Linked DNA regions of Homo sapiens: region 1 is linked to region 2. The links are contacts of gene promoters, found by promoter capture Hi-C in human tissues and cell types (Jung and others, 2019). All regions are on one chromosome and are shown on one strand. Each heading gives the region's core, a stretch centred on a gene start or on the middle of the fragment in contact. The rest is flanking DNA. Distances are from core to core; before and after follow the strand shown.

What was found. Contacts are between HindIII fragments. The study calls those that stand out against the background at their distance.
Region 1: a fragment that was not itself captured here is called in contact with the fragment with the promoter of ING3 in region 2 in 1 of the 25 tissues and cell types used here (H1 embryonic stem cells).

Annotation. Positions count from the first base shown.
Region 1 is chr7:120,280,567-120,284,425 of GRCh38, forward strand. The region is part of intron 1 of KCND2 (potassium voltage-gated channel subfamily D member 2); the gene reads left to right. Among named protein-coding and RNA genes, the nearest start is that of KCND2, 9.3 kb to the left of the region's middle. The HindIII fragment of the contact is 9,212 bases long and covers 1-3,859 here.
Region 2 is chr7:120,948,432-120,952,774 of GRCh38, forward strand. It overlaps ING3 (inhibitor of growth family member 3), which reads left to right and starts at 2,346. Exons shown (of 12, transcript NM_019071.3): 1 at 2,346-2,493; 2 at 2,733-2,804. The coding sequence starts at 2,466. RefSeq lists an enhancer at 2,889-2,968. The HindIII fragment of the contact is 14,638 bases long and covers 1-4,343 here.

The DNA of each region.
Region 1 (3,859 bases), core at 143-2,642, 670 kb before region 2:
ATTCCTCTCAATTATACTCATCTTTGAAAATGAGTCACAAAGTTCAAATTTCTTATTACCTGATCTCTACATTCCTAGTGGAAGAAAAGTGACCCATCATTTATTTAAAATTAATAATTTTGTTCATTTAAGAATTGTGTGGCTTGTCCATAGTTACATAATTGGATAGCAGCAATATTTTTTGAAATTTCACTTTTATGCTCATTTTCTTCTGAAGACCCTAAAACATTATCTAGAAATGTGTTATAATAATTATCGGGACTGCTGCTGATTATACAGGGATAAGAGAAGGAATACATTTGCTATTTATTCTATTAATGTAGTGCATTTCTCCCTTAGTTCTATTGATGTGACTCATTCCACATTCCTCAATATCACTGCTGGCTCTGCATTTATTCAAACAGCACTGGGGTTTATCATAATGGTGCCCATCTGATATAATACAACCTTGTATTCTCATCCAGTGAACTTTCAGGCCGTTTGGCGGCAAACTACTCAATGGTGAATCTTTTACCTGGCCTGATGGAAAAGAATTCAGTTATTTTGCCCTAATTTCCTGAAAGAGTTGGCCTATGAGTCATTAAAAATATGCAATTTAACTTCTCTTTCATTGAAAGAACACAAATGGTGAAATAAACATTCACTGAAAAGGAAGTATATTTTTTCCTTTAAAGTTGTGATAATGAATTCATTCCCTTTCCTCCCTTCTACTCTCCATATGTCTTATATTGTTTTCTAAGCAGGGATACACACACACGTATGCATGTATGTATGTATTTATGTACATATGTATGTATAAGCATTGCTCTCCCACTAGCTTCTGCAGCTAGATTTGATGATGTGGGATAGCGTCTGATATTGAAAAAAAAAAAAAAACCCCAGGGTGAAACACCATTTTTGTGCATATTTGCACTGCTCTTTGAATGTTTTGCCCTTTAGTTTTCTCCTTTGAGAGGCAGCCTTTACGTTGACCTTCTCCATGAAGGCTTTTCAGCCCCCTAAGCAAGCCTACGTCATTTATAGTTGGAATTGTGCTTGATATTAGTAAGTGTCATTTTTATATATAATTTATGGTTTTACCTCTTGACATTCTAACTAAATTGAAAGGCTTTTGAGGTTTGAGTGTATACCTTCTGGGGAGTTATTACCTAGTTCGGTGCTCAAATGTAGGAAAATATCTATGTTAATGTGTTGCTGATCATGGTGTGAGATGGCACTTGTACGCCATGGAGAGCTCCTTAGCCATGGAGCTGTGCCATCTCAACATTAGCAATAATCTGCTACTCTTAAGCCAAATTATTTTGCTTTGTTCAATGTTAAAAGTATTTACATTTGTTATTTGAACATTTTGTCCTCTCATCTACTAAATGTACCCTTTTAATTTTTCTCTTTTTGACTGGGAAGGGCTGTGAGACCTCAACTTTTTCATCCATAACTAACTACTCTGCAAAGGCTAGAATTAATGGCTACCAGTTGCCATTTTCTTGAACAGTTTGATTTCTGGTGAAGTCCAGGTAAATTGCGGATGCCTTTGGGAAGCATATGGAGATGCTTCATGATATAGGTGAATCAACATAGAAATATACTACCTTCCCTTGAAAGCCCAGTTCCTTATGTAAATACGAGTAGCTTAAAAAGCCCATGGGTCAACAGATACTTTGATGATGCTTCATCACTAGAAAGGTGTTCTCTCTTACCAGTAACACAAGCTGGAACTCTTGTTTTTCATCCAGGTTTTCTCATTTATGCATAAAATAGAATTTTTTAAAATAGGGAAATATTGTCTGTAAATGACATAGGAGATAGATGCAATTTCTGTCAGGAAAAGCTCAATGTAATCACCATCAGGAAGAAGTTAACATTCTAAGAAATTAAAAGGCAGATTACAAAATGTAAAGATAAATGTAGGTATATATTCTAGCATAACGCAATCCATTTTGCCTTGGGAATTTTGACAAGTCTATTATGTAATGATCTAAATCATTAAAAGTGTGGGGGGAGTAGGGAATGAGTTCCTAGAGGTTAATAATGGGAAAAAATAACATTGAAAGAGTAGGATGACAGTTGAGATAATGTCAAATAGAATGGGAAGATTTTGTTCTAAAAGTAAAAGGTCTTGTCTTTTTTGCTTTTATGTGGACCTAATTCTTCCGTCTTCTTCATTTTCTTCACTTTTAACAATATCAGTAATAGTGCTCTTGGAAACCCAAAATAACACCAGTAACATACACTCTCAGGGAATCAGACTGTGGCTCACAGAGTTCAATTCAACATAATAGACCTTTGTTGATCACTTGCTACCTGTCATTGACCACAGCAGTAACCAAAAGGTCAACTTTCTCACCTTAGGAACTATTTAAAACTAAAATAGTGGAAGAGTCAGAAATAAAAATGTAAATATATGATATAATGCCACGTAGAGATGAGTGCTATGAACAAAATACATCTGGGTAACAAGCCTGCTATTTTGCATAGGGGACAAACAAGGCTTTTCCAAGGGGTTGGCATTTAAGCCAATGGCTGATTAAAGTGATGAAATGACTTTCTGACTATCTGGATGAAGAGAATTAGAGGAAGAGAGAAAAGGAGTACAAAGACTTCAAGGTGGGATGAAGTTTCATCAATTCTATCTAATGTCCCTGTAATAGAAGCAAAGAGAGTAAGGGGCTTAGTAGCAAATGGAATCTGAAAAGTAGTTAGGACTAGACTATGTAGGATATGATAGACCACAATAAAGACTTCTGATTTCATTTAAGATGAAAGGGGGAGCCATTAGAGAGTTGTGAGCATGGTAGGGATAGGATATGATTTCTGTGTTAAAAGGAGCAAATGCTCTAAAACATTTAAAACATTTTTAAATGGTCAAATTAAAATTATTTACCATGAATAAATTTTCATCCTTCATTAGTTTTTTATATTTACCTTAGCTTAAAATTTATATCCAATTATTCAGGAGATTATCTAAAAAATGAGTATTTTCTAATACATAAGTAAATTGTTACTAATAACACAAATAAAACTAGTTCAAATGAAAACTGAATTCCATATTTTAGCTGAAAAGACAAGGCTAGTGCTCAGTGGATATGGAATTATTTGGGAACTGATGCAGATAATTATTTCTTTTGAATATAGATTTGCATACTTAATAGTTGTCAATTGTAATATTAGTGTTCAAGAATATTACACACATTTTGAATTCTAGTTAAAGGATTTTCATTCCTTTTTTGTCACTTTGCAGTAGGTACATATATATCTTTTCCAGGTGTTTTGTTAGTTATATAAGCCTGAAAGACAAAATGGCTTACATACCTTAAAATCTGTGAAGATTGCCATAGGATATGTATTTTTCAACACAAATTAAATTGAGACCATGTTTATAGCAGATGTGTGATGAAAACTTGCAGAAGCAATGCTTTGATAAGAATCACCATGCTGAAGAATAAACTATAACCATGAATGGATAATTGGAAATACATGGGTTTGGAGAAAGAAAAATTGGATTAACAACATAAAAATGCAAAAAAAGGGTATGCTTTCCAGATGAACAAATTGTGAAAATAGTTTTTGAATCTAGAGGAATTCAGTGTGGCCTCTCACTTTAGCATGCTGTTTCCATGAAGACATTTGCCCTCTAGATAACTCTGCATCTTACCCAGTTCTTTCCAGAGGCCTATTTCCTGATAAGGAAGCAAGGATTCATGGGGGCTAACACACACACACATGCACACGCACACACACACACGCGCGCACACTCCAACCATTCGCTGGTTTCCTTTCGTCATGCTGTAGAAATTAAGGCTGTCTAACCCTATACCATCTTAGTGCACTTTGGAAAAATGAAATTCTTCTCCATATTGTT
Region 2 (4,343 bases), core at 1,096-3,595:
ATAAAAGGGGAAAAAGAAGGAAAATGAAAATATCCTGAGAAATAAGTGCAAGCCAAAGTAGGCTTTTGTTCAGAGACTATCTGTCAAGTTCTGGACACCTAGAGCTCTTACTTTAATAGCTGTGCAGCATGCCAGGGTCAGAAGATAAACCCAAGTATCAGTTTAAAAGGAAGAGTCTTACAGCAGACAAAAATCTGGGGCCCCAATGGACTATACTCTCCATGTAAGGGTAAATGACATATAAGCCTCATGCACAGAATAGGCCAGTAATGAAACATGTCTGTCTTGGCCTTGGAGCCCAGTAAAGAAAGAAAAAAAAATTCTCCTCTGAGAATCTGTAACAATCCATTTGGGATAGAGGCCCAAATTCAATCTATCTGTGCAATACAATAAACCTCAAGGGGACAATTTAATCTGGTCCTAGGGGTTTATGATGTCTCCAAACAAACTGACAAGCAAATTCTAATGCTCTCCATGAAAACTCAATTTCAACTCCAGCTCAAAGAATCCTTATGCTTGTAATCCCAGAAACAGGAATTCAGAGTCCAAAATCGCAACCCAACAGGAAAAAGCCACCATGAGTAAAAGTGCCCATTTCTGAAGAAATAGCACTAAAAGGCCCATAAATGTTTCAATATTAGGTTTAACAGAAACAAGATACAGACTAAATAATTTGTATAAGAAATTATAAGATGTCTTGAAAAGAGAACCGAATAGAACTTCCAAACCTGAAAAATTATGAAAATTCTAAAATAAAACATATAAAAGAAAGATTAAGATAAATAAGAGAATAAAGAGAGAAAGTCTTAATGGAAAAAATGAGAAATAAGCAATACTGAAAAGACAAACGCTGAGAATTTTCTAGAATTGTTGCAGGGCACCAATCCTGAAATTCAGGAATCCCCTCAAATCCTAAGCATAATTTTAAAATTTTAAGGAAAGAAAAGGGAATAAGGAAGGAATTCAGACTTAGATCACTACAAAACTGCAAAAAGATGTCAAAGAGATGTTAAAAGCAGCCAGAAGAAGGAAGGATGGGAAACGAAGAAAGGAGGAAAAAAAGAAGGGAGAAAAAGATCGAAAGTACTTGATTTTCGATGGAAGTAATGAAAAACTTAACTAGAAACTATAAAATTCTAATTCTTATTAGGATCGAAGTAAGGTTCCGTTGAGATTCATCATGATTCATCATTCACGACAGGAAAGTTTCCTGCTTAAGAGCAGTGAAAACCTTGAGTACAAGAGTATGTAATGGAGAAGGAAAGCAAGAAACACACACACACAGTTTCAACTGCAATTTGAAAAACAGAAAATGAACAATAAATTATGAACTAATGACAATTTCCCCAGAAAATCGAAAAGTTAAGAAGAGTGGAAAATAACAATATCTAGCATTTATTGAGTGCAAGAGTTTTTAATAAAAAACAATTTAAAAAGAAACTGAGTAGGGACGTACTAAATATATCACAGGAAAACATTTGCTGGGAGAGGTCGAAAAGTAGAAACTAAAGAACGCCGAAGACAACCAACCTCGAATATGGACTATTTACTCAACATAAAGTTACTGCTATTAACAGCCTATTAGAAATCAAGGCTGCATCCGTAATTCATGGCTGCTCACTGTGATGATGAAGATTATTATTATTATTATTTGCGGATGCAGATTGTATGTATAGATCAATTACATTAGAATGACGATTAGATGGACCGCAAACTAGAATATATAAGTGGCTACTGACACTATTTGTGCATCTTTTAATCTGGGAAATGTATATTCACTCCATAGTCTCAGTATAAACTATTTTAAAATTACACGTAAGCCAACCAGGTGTCTCTTTTATATTTTAGAGTGAATAATGAGGATAAATTCCAGTAGAGAGTTCTATTTTAAGCAATCCAAATTCCCCGAACTTTGCTGATTATTCTAGTGTTTAGAACCTTTGCTATTTGCCTGGCACTTCTTGAAACCCATAACTCACAAACGCCGGGGCATGGAATCACATCAAAGAACAGGTGAAAAGTTGTTCCTAGTTGTGTTATGCAGGTGCATACAACTCCCGCCATTCTCTGTGCAAAAATCAACAAATAAACAGAGGCACCGCATTTCGGATTCTGTTACGCACTGTTTGCAATGGCGCCCGGTATTCGTAGTTTCTGCGAGGGGAGCCGCCAGCGCGCCAACCCTCGCTGAGGAGGAAGAAAACTACATTTCCCACAGAGGCACGGGGGCGAACACCGGCCGGGCTACGTCATTGCTTGAACCAACCAATAGCAGCTCCGGGCGGCAGTGAGGCAAGCGCCTCAGGCGCCAAAGTGGTTTTTTTTTTTTTCTTTTTTTTTTTTTGCCGGAGTCGAGCGGGTGCTGCTAGCGGAGGCGCCATATTGGAGGGGACAAAACTCCGGCGACAGCGAGTGACACAAATAAACCCCTGGACCCCCTTGTTCCCTCAGCTCTAAGGGCCGCGATGTTGTACCTAGAAGACTATCTGGAAAGTGAGTGCGCGGCGCTGGCGGCGGCCGCCAGTGGGACGTGCGGGCGGGCAAGAGCGCGAGTGGACGGGCAGCGAGATGGCGGGAGGGAGGGGGCGGCGGGGGATGTTTCTTTCTCACGGTAACTGGCAGCCTCGTTGTGGGCTGCCGGCCCCCTCGACCCCCCTGACGCACGCGCGCAGTGACGTAAGCGCGTATTTCGCCGTTGGCCCCGCCCCTCTGACGGACTCTCCCTTTGACAGTGATTGAGCAGCTTCCTATGGATCTGCGGGACCGCTTCACGGAAATGCGCGAGATGGACCTGCAGGTGCAGAGTAAGTCGGCGCGTCTACTACTCCTGTTCGCTGCGCGCGTTCAGTGCCAGACTTGCTTGTCATCACTGCTAGCGCCTAGTGCTCTTTCACTGTCCTCTGGCTCACTCCGCTAGTGCATAAGGAGTTGTCAAAAAGAACTGGCAGCCCTGAATCTCGCCTTCCCCTTCCCTCCCATGCTACTTTTTTCTGGCTTTTGCAAGAGCAGGAGGCATTGGGACACGTGTATTCCTTTCTAGAATGTGGGATTGTGCAAAAAATATTTCTCTACCGTCATTGACATAGTTATCTATGTTTCAATGGACGTCAGCATAATAAATGTTGAGATGTCGTCTTGAGCCTTTTCGTATCGAACTTAGATTTCAGCATTTATACTTATTTTAAAGTTCATCCTATTCACAGTTTTTCAAGAGTGGAAAGCACAGAAGCAGAGGTTATATATAGCTCTTTAGAGACCATGGCAAATGTCAAATTTTGAAAACTTAGTTACACATTAGATACATTTTAAATTGTAACAGAATCGTCATTTTCTTGGTTAAAATGAGTGACAGAAATTAGATTTCACTGTAAAGTTTCTTATGTGCTGTACTAAAAATTTTAGCAGTTAATGAACATTTCTTTTTCTTTCAGTGATAGCTTGGTAGTCTCTAGGACTTTTTCCCCAAATTAACTTTGCTCTTTCATAGAGCAACGACTATAAATAGGTGGCTCAGGGACCACCTGCTGCAGCTAAGAACCTGTCCTTTTCACTGCTCCTGGCTTCTCTGCCCATGACCACACACCCACTTCTATACCCTTTGCTTATGAGTATATTTTTCCGGTAAGTTTCAGGTGGCACATAATAAAAAGTGGTGGCATGGAAGCCACTTTCTGTTCAGTGGATTGTGATATGAAGTATGAATTGTGTGTGTGGTTCTCCAGCTATCTCACAAATTCATTTTAATTTTAGTGTAGTTGAAATGCTGAAGATTTGCTGAAGTAGTGTTCTCTGCAGGACTGAGCACAGACATTGATGTCAGATCTGAGTTTGTTTTAGGGCTTTACTAATTTACTCATTGACTCTGACTGTATTATCACTTGTGAGGGGCTTACATTGTCTATAAAAAGAGAATCATCCAAGGATTTAAAATGTTACACATGGATTAGAATTTCTAGTATCTGATACAAAGTAGGCATTAAATAAAGGGTAACTTACTTTAAATTATTTTTATATTTTATTGTTTAAAATTTTAAATTCTCTTGTAATTTGGGCTTACATTATACATATTACAGGCTTTTTAAACGTGCATTTCTTTACAGTAACTAGAATTTTCTAAAGTTAATAGGTATTATGGATTAACAGAACTGTGTGCCAAATAAATTCAGAAATGCTTATTTAAACAAAGGAACATACTTCTAAAAAATTAACCATAGGACTTCATAGAGTCTTTAAAAGGCTATTGTGGACTGGAAATCTCCAAAAGAAGTATATTATGAAAAGATTTTTCTCAACTTACATAACAACAGAATCTTTTTTATTAATTTTTCCTTTTTTTTTTTAGC